Linked DNA regions of Homo sapiens: regions 2 and 3 are each linked to region 1. The links are contacts of gene promoters, found by promoter capture Hi-C in human tissues and cell types (Jung and others, 2019). All regions are on one chromosome and are shown on one strand. Each heading gives the region's core, a stretch centred on a gene start or on the middle of the fragment in contact. The rest is flanking DNA. Distances are from core to core; before and after follow the strand shown. Region 1 overlaps ZNF738 (zinc finger protein 738). Region 2 holds the start of ZNF626 (zinc finger protein 626). Region 3 holds the start of ZNF66 (zinc finger protein 66).

Region 1 (4,223 bases), core at 890-3,389:
TTACTACACATAAGATGATTCATACTGTAGAGAAACGCTACAAATGTGAGGAATGTGGCAAAGCTTTTAACTGGTACTCACGCCTTACTACACATAAGAGAATTCATACTGGTGAGAAACCCTACAAATGTGAAGAATGTGGCAAAGCCTTTAGTGTATTCTCAACCCTTACTAAACATAAGATAATTCATACTGGAGAGAGACCCTACAAGTGTGAAGAATGTGGCAAAGCCTTTAATGTATTCTCAACCCTTACTAAACATAAGAGAATTCATAATGGAGAGAAACCCTACAAATGTTTAGAATGTGGCAAAGATTTCTACCAATTCTCATACCTTACTACACATAAGATGATTCATACTGGAGAGAGACCCTACAAACATGAAGAAAGTGGCAAAGCTTTTAACTGTTCCTCACAAATTACTAGACATAAGATAATTCATACTGGAGAGAAACCCTACAAATGTGAAGAATGTGGCAAAGCTTTTTAAAAATCCTCAAACCTTACTAATCATAAGATAACTCATACTGGAGAGAAACCCTACAAATGTGAAGAATGTGGAAAAGCTTTTAACCAGTCCTCAACTCTTACTAGACATAAGAGAGTTCATACTGGAGAGAAACCCTACAAATGTGAAGAATGTGGCAAAGCTTATAACTGGTCCTCAAACCTTACTAAACATAAGAAAATTCATACTGGAGAGACACCCTACAAATGTGAAGAATGTGGCAAAGCTTTTAACCAATCTTCAACCCTTACTATACATAAGATAATTCATATTGGAGAATAACACTACAAATGTAAAAAATGTGGCAAACCTTATAACCAGTACTCATACTTTACTACACATAGGAGAATTCATGCGGAAGAGAATTTCTACAAATGTGAAGAATGTGGCAAAGGCTTTGACTGGTCCTCTACCCTTACTAAAGATAAAAGAGTTTGACTGGGTGCGGTGGCTCATGCCTGTAATCCCAGCACTTTGGGAGGCTGAGGCAGGCAGATCACCTGGTCAATGGTCCTCTACCCTTACTAAAGATAAAAGAGTTTGACTGGGTGCGGTGGCTCATGCCTGTAATCCCAGCACTTTGGGAGGCTGAGGCAGGCAGATCACCTGGTCAAGAGTTCAAGACCAGCCTGGCCCATATGGTGAAACCCCATCTCTACTAAAAATATAAAAAATTAGCCAGGTGTAGTGGTGCACACCTGTAGTCCCAGCTACTCTGGAGGCCTAGGTGGGAGAATCGCTTGAACCCAGGAGGTGGAGGTTGCAGTGAGCTGAGATGGCTCCACTGCACTCCAGCCTGGATGACAGAGAGAGACTCTATCTCCAAAAAAATAAATAAATAAATAAAAAAAATAAGAGAGTTCATACTAGAGAGAAACCCTGCAAATGTGAAGAATGTGAGAAAGCTCTTAACCAGTCCTCACACCTTACTGCACATAAGAGAAATCATACTGGAAGGAAACCCTACAAATGTAAAGAATGTGAGAAAGCTTTTAACTGGTACTCATGCCTTACTGCACATAAGATAATTCATACTGGAGAGAAACTCTACAAATGTCAAGAATGTGGCAAAGCTTTTAACCGGTACTCAACCCTTACTACACATAAGGTAATTCATGCTGGAGAGATACCCTACAAATGTGAAGAATGTGGCAAAGGTTTTTATTGATTCTCATACTTTACTAAAAATAAGGTGATTCATTCTGGAGAGAAATTCTACAAATGTGAAGAATGTGGCAAAGGCTTTAATTTGTCCTCAACACTTACTAAACAGAATTCATAGCAGAGAGAAATCCTACAAATATGAAGAATGTCACAAAGCTTTTAACCACTTCTCAACCCTGATGACACATAAGGTAATTCGTGCTGGAGAGAAACCCTACAAATATGAAGAATATCTCAAAACTTTTTATAGATTCTCATACCTTATTAAACATAAAATCTTACAGGAGAGAAATTATACAAATGTGAAGAATGTGGCAAAGCTTTTAAGAAATCCTCATCCATTACTAAACAAGATAATTTGTACTGGAGAGAAAACCTACAAACGTGAGGAATGTGGCAAAGCCTTTAATGGTCCCCTCAACTTTCTGCACATAAGATAATTTATACTGTGGAGAAGCCTTACAAATGTGAAAAATGTAGCAAACCTTTTAACTAATCCTCAACCCTTACTACACATAAGATAATTAATGCTGGAGGGAAATCCCACCCATGTGGCAAAGCTTTTAATCAATCCTCAAACCTTACTAAACATAAGATAACTCATACTGGAGAAAAATCTTAGAAATGTGAAGGATGTGGTAAAGCCGTTATCCAGTCCTCAACTCCCACTAAACATAACATAATTCATACTGGAGAGAAACCTCACAACTGTGAAGAATGTGGCAAAGCTTTTAACCAGTCCTACAAACCTTTTTGAACAAAATAATTCATACAGGAGAGAAACACTACAAATGTGAGGAATGTGACAAAGCCTTTAACCAGTCCTCAATTCTTACCAAACATAAGAAAATTCATATTGGAGATTAACCTTATGAGTGTGAAAAATATGGCAAAAGCTTTAACTAGTTCTCAGTTATTATTATTATTTTTAGAGATGGAGTTTCACTCTTGTTGCCAAGGCTGCAATACTGTGGCATGATTTCAGCTCACTGCAACCTCCGTCTCCCAGGTTTAAGCAATTCTGCCTCAGCCTCCCGAGTAGCTGGGATTACAGGCATGCACCACTATACCCATCTAATTTTGTATGTTTAGCAGAGATGGGGTTTCTCCATGTAGATCAGGCTGGTCTTGAACTCCTGACCTTGTAATCTGCCCACCTCAGCCTCCCAAAGTGCTGGGATTACAGGCATGAGCCACCACGCTCAGCCACTAGTCCTCAGATCTTAACACACATAAGATAATTCATACTGGAAAGAAACTCCACAAACCAGAAAGATGCAATAATGCTTTTGACAACACCTCAAGCTTTTCTAACCATAAAAAGAATCATATTGGTGAGAAATCCTAGAAATGTGAAGAATGTGACAAAGTCTTTAAATGGTTGTCATACTTGACTTTTTTCTTTTTTTGAGATGAAGTCTCACTCTTGTCCCCCAGGCTGGTGTGCAATGGCATGATGTCGGCTCACTGCAAACTCCGCCTCCCAGGTTCAAGTGATTCTCCTACCTCAGCCTCCCAAGTAGCTGGGATTACAGGCACCTGCCACCACGCCTGGCTAATTTTTGTACTTTTAGTAGAGATGGGGTATGACCATCTTGGCCAGGCTGGTCTCAAACTCCTGACCTCAGGTGATCCGCCCACCTCGGGCCTCCCAAAGTGCTGGGATTACAGGCATGAGCCACCACTCCCTGCCTTACTTGATTACATTCAATATAATTCATACTGGAAAGAAATCCTACAAGTGAGAGCAATGTGGCAAAACTTAACCACCTTATTGCACAGAAAAGCATTTATGTTTGAGAAAAATTATACAAATACAGACTGTGAAAAAGACATTAATATCTGCTTACATCTTAACACCAGAGAGTTCATACTTAATAAAAGCAAGATAAGGGCAATTACTGTCAAAAGGTCTTTCAGAAAAATATAACCCTTTAAAGTGAAGAAGAGAATTTATATTGAAGATGGACATTACAAACATAAAGAGGGTTGTAGTACCTTTACTTGAATCAAATTTTATTGTACACATTTTGTACTAGAGGAAAACTCTGAAGCAGTTGCTCAAGCTTTGTTCAACATTAGGGCACTTATATTGGAAAAGTGTCTTGCAGATATAATAAATGTGGAAAAACACTTTTTCAAAAACTACATCAGAAAACACCAGAGTTTATACTGAAGAATATTTTTGAAGATGCACTAAAAATGAAAAAATATTTAATCCAAATTAGGGCTATGTAAATATCAGAATTTATAATAGAAATATATAAGGAACTGACACTGCAGATATACTAAGTCAAGAGTTCTGAGTATAGAAAATAATCTAAAACTAAAGTTGATAGAAAAAGTATTTGTATATAAATTTAAGAGGAGTAAAAGATTTTTTGCAGAGTAATAACTACATTCTAAGTATACTTTATTTCTTGAAAAAATTACAGACTTTGAAAGCAAATGATGTAATTCAACACTCATTTTCTGGTGTTTCTTCATTCTTATTCACTTGTGAAAGCATGTGATAATTGTTGCATCAAAGGTATGAGAGATTCTTTTCCA
Region 2 (4,223 bases), core at 698-3,197, 720 kb before region 1:
TAGGAGAAAAGCCCTTTTCTGCCTACATTTTTGCAACCCATGAAGATTTTTTAGTTAGCTGGTACTTCTTCCTGTTGCAATACTTCTTAGGAATTCATTTTTTTTTTACATAAATCTAATATTCTTATTTTAGAAAGCGTAAAAAGTGCCTCAAAACCATAACAACTTCATTACCAGTAAGACCCTCCCAGTTTCCTTTCATCTTAATCTTGACTGCATCTGCCTGTGGGGCCCCAGCTTTCCAAGGCTTTGTAGCTTCTTTCAGAATGAAGGCTCCTTCCGTGGCTGGGGTGAGCAGTCTTGAGATATCCGCAAGGGAGACTCCCCAGAAAAAAATAACAGGGCCTTTAATAACCTCCTGTTGGCCGGGTGCGGTGGCTCACACCGATAATGCCAGCACTTTGGGAGGCCGAAGCGGGTCTGAGGCAGAGAGTTCAAGACCAGCCTGACAAACATGGAGAAAACCCGTCTCTACTAAACACCAAAATTAGCCGGGCGTGATGGTGCATGCCTGTAATCCCAGCTACTGGTGGGGCTGAGGTAGGAGAATCGCTTGAACCCAGTAAGCCGAGATCACGCCATTACATTCCAGCCTGGGCACCACAAGCGACACTGTGTCTAAAAAAAAAAAAAAAAAAAAAAAAATACCCTGTTGCAGGCTTAATATTAGCCTTAGCTTGGAGTCACTAGGTTCAAGCTTTAATGTCCACATCAGTTATTCACTTGGTTTTTGAAACTAAGTGTTAGAAACTCCAGTGAAATTACTCACAATGTTTACATAAAGGAATTTTTAAGATGCTTACTTTTTTTTTCTTTTTTTTGAGCCGGAGTCTCGCTTTGTCACGCAGGCTGGAGCGCGATGATTGGATCTCAGCTCACTGCAACTTCCGCCTCCCGGGTTCAAGCAATTCTCGTGCCTCAGCCTCCCAAGTGGCTGGTACTACAGGCACGTGCCAACACGCCGATAGTTTTCGTATTTTTAGTAGAGACGGGTTTCACCACGTTGGCCAGGCTGGTCTAGAACTCCTGACCACGTGATCCACCTGCCTCGGCCTCCGAAGTGCTGGGATTACAGGCTTGAGCCACCGCGCCCAGCAAGAAAGGGGTTTTGAACCCTAATGCAGTTCCTGTTTTTGTTTCCATCCCCTATTGGCTGGGATCAGACCGCACAATCTAAGCTGATCCTGGTAAGCTTAGACCCAAACTTTTTCCAAATAAAGTAAATGCGCGATTTGCGAGAAAAGGAAAAGGGGGTAGAAGAAGAGGTAGGGTTGATTTACAACTTTTACAACTTATGACCAGAAAGTTGAGTCATTTAAAAGGAACTTAGTTGTCCTAACACCTCTTTACCTCAAGTGATCCGCCCGCCTCGGCCTCCCAAAACGTTGGGATTACAGGCGTGAGCCACAGCGTCCGGCCCCATACATTTTTAATAGGAGAAAAGAGAAACTGTAAACCCAAAGGAACAAAGCTCTTCCCATTCATGAACCCGCACCCCGAGTCAGGATTCTCCCCTGCCCACCCTCCCCTGGTCCCTGCACAATCTGGGAGAGACGCCACGCTGCGGGTGCAGAGCTGCCCAGAGAGGGCTCCAGGCCAGGGTAGTCACCGCGCAGTGAAGAGACAAGACGCCCGGGTGCCGGCTGTCAGCGCAGCTGCCATTTTATGGCTGAACAGGACTGAGGCCGAGCTGAGCAAGGAGAACTGGGGGAGCAGACTGTGGAGCTGACTGCGGGGAGGCCTGAGTCCCGCCACAGCCACTTTTCACCGGTTCCAACCAGTCCCTCTCCTCTCTCGGGATGTCGGACCCTCACTCTCACCATTTTTGGCTTCCAGGAGGTCCCGGTGTCTTAGCTGTGGATCTCCCAATACCTGCAGGACACGGGGCCACACAGCCTGGGCCTTTAGGAGAAGAACCAGACCTGGAGCTCTGACTGCAGCGAGAGACAAAGGCCGCACCAAACCCGGAAACCGTCCTCTTCGCTCCAGCTGCGTTCCTGATTGGATGGTTTCCAGCCCACCATCCCTGATTGGATAATGCTTAAGGCCCCGCCCCCTGAGGCCCTGAGTGACAGTAGATGTGATCAGACGCTGAGCTGAGTGAAGAAAGAGTGACAGCCTAAGCTGCAGCCTTTTCAGGCAGGGCTTCCTTCCTGAGCTGAGCCAGGCCCACCCCAGAGCATGGGAGAATTCTATCTTTTCTTTACTCTCTCTCTTTTTGAATGTATTCAAAAGGTGAACAGAAGTATTTTGCTCTCATATTAATAATACATAAAATTTTTGTTCAAGAGAAAATCAACTTTTACTTTGGCAATAATGTATTATCAATACTAAAGGTAATTTTGATAAAACCTTATAAAAAATCAAATTTGTCATTTTTGACCTCTCGAGATTTACATACATATTTTGTAATCTAATGTAATTTTTTAACTTTTTATATTTTATTTTTATCTACATTCTTTTTATTTTTTCAATTTGAAACAACCTTTAAGTAATTTCAAACTGTTACAAGAGACAAAGAAATCATTTAGGGCCAGTCCGCTGGTGCACGCTTGTAATCCAAGCACTTTGGGAGGCCAAAGTGGGTGGATCACTTCAGGTCAGGAGTTCAAGACCAGCCTGGCCAACATGTTGAATCTCATCTCTAGTAAAAACACAAAAAATTAGCCAGGTGTGGTGGTACACACCTGTAGTCCCAGGTGCTACGGCGGCTGAAGCAGGGGAATCGCTTGAACCCAGGAGGCGGAGGTTGTGTAACGGCCTAAGGGCTTCATCTTGCCTAGACAGAGATGATTCATCAAGACAGGGGAATTTGTGGAGGAAAAGTTAAATATTAAATTTGAACTCAGTTGAACATGGACACAAACAATGGTCACCAAGTCCTGGAACAGGTTATGTGAGCCCCTTGAGGCATTCACCTGCCGACCTTCCCCTGGTCCCTGCACAATCTGGGAGAGACGCCATGCTGCAGGTGCAGAGCTGCCCAAAGTGGGCTCCAGGCCAGGGCACAGTCACAGCGCAGTGAAGAGGCAGGACTTCTGGGGGCCTGGCTGTCAGCGCAGCTGCCATCTTCTGGCTGAATGGGACTGAGGCCAAGCTGGGCAAAGAGAACTGGGCACAGATTGTTTTGGAGAAATCTCTATTTTAATCTATTCCTATACGTTAGTTATTGAAAAACAATAGCCAATCGCAAAAAAAACAAGTTGACTTTTTTGTGTTCCTTGAGCCCAGTTGCAAAGAGCCCAGTTGCAACTGGGCCTCATGCCAAACAACTTGTTACAAAAAGAGCTAGGATCCCAGACTGCACCAAAGCTCCAAAGACCTCTCCTTGTCTGTACAGGGATGGGTGGCCGACTCTGGAGCCCAGGCTGTTGCTTCCTGGTCTGCTGATGAATCCTCCATAGTCTGGTGAGTGTAAAGATATATATTTTTTCTCTTCTCCCCTTCCCATTGCAATGCTCTTATTATATCAATTTGCTTATTATATATGCATTGCCATTTACCTGGGATAAAGCTTGTTTACCCTTAAAGGTATTGTGTGCGTGTCTTTTCTTCTCCCCTCATGTGTTTCCTGCACAGAACATATTTCTCAAAGGCTTCATTTGTTCCTTTTTATTCATTTTTGTTTAATCTTGTCTGCATGCCTTATTTTGGCAAGGTGGTCTTCAAACTCTGATGTTCTTTCTTCTGCTTGGTCAATGCAGCTACAAATACTTTTGTATGCTTCAGGAGGTTCTCATGCTGTGTGTTTTAGCTCCATCAGATCATTTATGTTCCTGTCTAAACCAGTTATTCTAGTTAGCAGTTCCTCTAACCTTTTATCAAGGTTCTTAGCTTCTTTCAATTGGTTTAGAACATGTTCCTTTAGCTCAGCAGAGTTTATTACCCATCTTCTGAAGCCTACTTTTGTCAATTCATCCATCTCATCCTCTGTCCAGTTCTGCACCCTTGCTGAAGAGACATTTTGATAACTTGGAGGAAAAGCCGCACTCTGGCCTTTCAGAGTTCTTTTGTTGATTCTTTCTCATCTTCATGAACTTGTCTAGTTTTGATCTTTGAGGCTGTTGACAACTGAATGGTTGTTTCTGTTTTGTTTTGTTTTGTTTTGAGACAGAGTCTCACTCTGTCACCCAGGCTGGAGGGCAGTGGCACAATCTCGGCTCAATGCAACCTTCGCATCCCAGGTTCAAGTGATTCTCGTGTCTCAGATTCCCGAGTAGCTG
Region 3 (4,223 bases), core at 1,222-3,721, 610 kb before region 1:
TTTTCCAGCCTCTGGCAGTTTCTGGGTCCAAAACATGAAAAGTACCCTCTTTCCATCTTGTTTCTGCCTAAGGCTCCAATTAGCATGTTGATCTACGACAGTTACTCGCAGTTCATCAGGCCCATCCCATATAGGCCATAGATCCAGGGCCAGTTGCACTGCTTGTTTAGCTTGTTCAAAAGCCATGCTGTCTTTCTCTCCACAGTGAGAGTCATACCTTTTTCTAGTGGCTGCATTCAGATGTTGTAAAATGTTACCCAAGTAAGGAATATGATGTGTTCAGAATCCAAACAAGTCAATACATTTCTGGGCCTCCTTCTTAGTGGTAGGGGTTGCAAATTATAGTATTTTAGCCTTAGCCTTTGGTGAAGTGGACTGTTTCTTTGCATTCCATAGGATGCCAAAGAATTTTACACTTTGTGCGGATCCTTAATTTTACTAGGCTTAATTTCCCATTTTTGAGATAGGAACTGGGTTTTTACATGCTCTAAGCCCCGGCTGACTAGTTCTTCAGTTTTACCCTGATTGGGCCACCTGGACAGCTGCTTTTTTCAGCAATAGGCTGATAGCTTTGAGCCTGATCAGTCAAGACATTGACTGGCATTGGGCCAGGGCCAGTCCGGAAGTCAGATTAGCATTTTCCTTTTCCAGCTTATATTTCTCTTGTAGCAACCAGCCCCTATCTTGACACATTAACTTATAAGCAGCAATCAAACACTATCCACTTTGTGAGATTCCCTCAGCATCTCCTTTGGTGACTGGAATCCCCTGCAGCACTTCACGCACAGTCAAAGGTTTAAATTGCACTAATTTAGATTCCCAATTCCCACAAAGGCCAGTTCCCCTGAACCATTCAATCACAAAGAAGGAGAACTGGGAGTGATCCCATCTCAGGATATGGGAAATCCTTGAGCCTCCAGCCCTATCCTTCTGGTCAAAAAGGGGCCCACTTTTGTTTTCAAATCCTGTTTGTGATGCCAAAAATGTTCTGTATGGGAAACGTGGGAGAGGAGAAGAAAAGACATACATACAATAACTTTAATGGTAAACAAGCTTTAACCCACATCAATATCAATGCAGACAGAATAAACTAATGATATAATAAGCAAATGATATAATAAGCAAATAAATATAATACACAGATTGATATAATAAGCAAATTGCAGTAAGAAGAGGAGATGGGAAAAGATATATATATATATTTACCCTCACTAGACTATGGAGGATTACCAACTGAGTAGGAAGAAACAGCCCAGGCTCCAGAGTCGGCCACCCATTCATGCACAGACAAGGAGTCTCATGAAGCTTCAGGGTGGTCTGGGACCCTAGCTCTTTTGTAACGAGTTGTTTGGCATAAGGCCCAGTGAGGAGGGCCATTTGGGACTTGCCTCACGGAACACAAAAGGGTCAAGTTGTTTTTGTGATTGTCTATTGTTTTTCAACAACTAATGTATAGTAATAGAATGAAATAGACATTTCTTTGATACAGCTCTGGATGAACACCTCAGGGGCTCACAACCAGGACCTGTTCTGGGACTTGGTGACCATTGTGTCCACGTTCAATTGAGTTCAAATTTAACATTTAACTTTTCCTCCATAAATTCTCCTGTCTTCATGAATTGGCTCTGTCTAGGCAAAGGGCAAAATGAACCCCTTGGGCTGTTACATAACCTCCACCTCCTGGGTTCAAGTGATTCTCCTGCCTCAGCCTCCGGAGTAGCTGGGACCACAGATGTGCACCACCATACCCAGCTAATTTTTTACATTGTGAGTAGAGATGGGGTTTCACCATGTTGGCCAGGCTAGTCTTGAACTCCTGACCTCAAGTGATCCACCCACCTTGGCCTCCCAAAGTGTTGGGATTACTGGCATGAGCTACCTGTGCCTGACCCTAAATTATTTCTATCTCTTATAGCAGTTTGAAATTACTTAAAGGTTGTTTCAAGTTGAAAAAATAAGAAGAATGTGGATAAAAATAAAATATAAATAGATAAAAAAATTACAGGGATTACAAAATATATATGTAAATCTGGAGTGGTCAAAAATGACAAATTTGATTTATTTATAAGGTTTTATTAAAATTAGCTTTAATCGTTAATACACTATTACCAAAGTAAAAGCTGATTTTCTCTTGAACAAAAATTTTATGTATTATTAATATGACAGCAAAATACTTCTGTTCACCTTTGAATACATTCAACAAGACAGAGAGTAAAAAAGAGATAAAATGTTCCCATGCTCTGGCATGGACCAGGCTCAGCTCTGGGAGGAAGCCCTGCCTGAAAAGGCTGCAGCTTAGGCTGTCACTCTTTTCTTCACTCCGCCCAGCAGCTGATCACATCTTCTGTCACTCAGTGTCTGAGGGGGCGGGACCTTAAGCATTAGCCAATCAGAGGCGCTGGGCTGGAAACCGTCCAATCAGGCACGCAGCTGGAATGAACAGGACGGCTTCCGGATTTGGCGGGGTCTTTGTCTCTCCCTGCAGCTGGAGCTCCAGGTCGTCTGTTCACTGCTCTCTGTCTTCTTCTCCTAGAGGCCCAGCCTCTGTGGCCCTGTGTCCTGCAGGTATTGGGAGATCCACAGCTAAGACGCCAGGACCCCCTGGAAGCCTAGAAATGGTGAGAGTGCCGGTCCAGCATCCCGAGAGAGGTGAAGTGTCTGTGGCGGGACTCAGGCCTCCCCTCAGTCAGCTCCACAATCTGCACCCCGAATTCTCCTTACCCAGCTCTGCCTCAGTCCCATTCAGCCATAAGATGGCGGCTACGCTGACAGCCTGGCCCCCGGGCGTCCTGTCGCTTCCCCGCGCAGTGACTGTGCCCCTGGCCTGGAGCGCTCTGTGGGCAGCTCTGCACCCGCAGTGCCGTGTCTCTCCCAGATTGTGCAGGGACCACCGGAGGGTCTTCAGGGGAGAATGCTGACTCGCGGTGCGGGTTCATGAATGGGAAGAGCTTTGGTCTGTGGGGTTCACAGTTTCTCTTTTCTGCTATTAAAATTGTATGGGGCCGGGCGCGGTCGTTCAAGCCTGTAATCCCCGCACGTTGGGAGGCCGAGGCGGGCGGATCACTTGAGGTCAGGAGTTGAAGACCAGACTGACCAAAATGGGGAAACCCCTTGTCTACTAAAAATACAAAAATTAGGTGGATATGTTGGCGAATGTCTGTAGTCCCAGCTTCTCGGGAGGCAGAAGTGAGAGAATCGCTTGAACCCGGGAGGCGGAGGTTGCAGTGAGCTGAAATCCTGCCACTGCACTCCAGCCTGGGCGACAGAGCAAGACTCTTGTCTAAAAAAAAAAAAAAAAAAAAAAAATTATGGGAGTCACTGCAAAAATATCAAACAATTTAATCAAAGAGTGATTCAAGAATTGTAGAGCACCCAGCTATAGTTTGTAGTTTGTGGTCCATGGGAGAGGCTTGAAGAAAAGACATTTATAAAATGCATGATGAGGAAAACCAAATTCAATAATTTGTTAGGTTTAGTAATGTAGTTTCTTAATTTGTACAATCAAGGTGGAAATTTCCTGGTTATGTAATTAGAGCTTAATTGGCAGTTTATAGTTGCTGAAGCCTGAATTTTGTTTCCCCTAATGTAGTAATTTGCCAAAAAATGCACTTGAGCTTAGATTTTTTTTTTTTTTTTTTTTTAGAAATAGAAATCCGGGGACTAGAGCCTCTTCAGTCTAATTGCCTGCCACTTAATTATTTTCACATCCCACAGGGGACTGACTTTCCCTGGCATTTTTCACATGTGTCCCAAGCAGGGCCTCAAGTGTCCCCCATGTTCCTCAATTAATTATTATTATTATTATTATTTTTTGAGACGGAGTCTTGCTCTGTCGCCAGGCTAGAGTGCAGTGTCAGATCTTGGCTCACTGCAACCTCCACCTCATGGGTTCAAGCGATTCTCCTGCTTCAGCCTCTCCAGTAGTTGGGACTACAGGCAAGCGCCACCACTCCCAGCTAGTTTTCATATTTTTAGTAGAGATGAGGTTTCACCATGTTTGCCAGGAATGCTAGTTACCAAGGAAAAATATAGGGAAAATCTCTCTTCCATTTTGGCTGTAGACAATGAATATATTTCCACAGGAAAATGTGGTAGATAATTGAGGAGTTACATGGATTCATCAACACATTAGTTCCTCTTTTTGCAGGGTAAATTTTTTCTATATCCTTTTATTTTGATTTCTGAGTTAAATGCTAAATTTTAAGTGATGAAACATGGTACCT

What was found. Contacts are between HindIII fragments. The study calls those that stand out against the background at their distance.
Region 2: a contact is called between the fragment with the promoter of ZNF626 here and a fragment that was not itself captured in region 1, in 2 of the 25 tissues and cell types used here (H1 embryonic stem cells and mesenchymal stem cells).
Region 3: the fragment with the promoter of ZNF66 here is called in contact with a fragment that was not itself captured in region 1 in 3 of the 25 tissues and cell types used here (aorta, spleen and thymus).

The regions. Positions count from the first base shown.
Region 1 is chr19:21,384,124-21,388,346 of GRCh38, forward strand. It overlaps ZNF738 (zinc finger protein 738), which reads left to right. Exons shown (of 5, transcript NM_001355237.2): 5 at 1-4,223. Among named protein-coding and RNA genes, the nearest start is that of ZNF493, 11 kb to the right of the region's middle. The HindIII fragment of the contact is 5,408 bases long and covers 1-4,223 here.
Region 2 is chr19:20,659,624-20,663,846 of GRCh38, forward strand. It overlaps ZNF626 (zinc finger protein 626), which reads right to left and starts at 1,948. Exons shown (of 4, transcript NM_001076675.3): 1 at 1,821-1,948. The coding sequence starts at 1,823. RefSeq lists a silencer at 2,073-2,142. The HindIII fragment of the contact is 1,409 bases long and covers 945-2,353 here.
Region 3 is chr19:20,773,833-20,778,055 of GRCh38, forward strand. It overlaps ZNF66 (zinc finger protein 66), which reads left to right and starts at 2,472. Exons shown (of 4, transcript NM_001355197.2): 1 at 2,472-2,618. The coding sequence starts at 2,616. The HindIII fragment of the contact is 10,177 bases long and covers 527-4,223 here.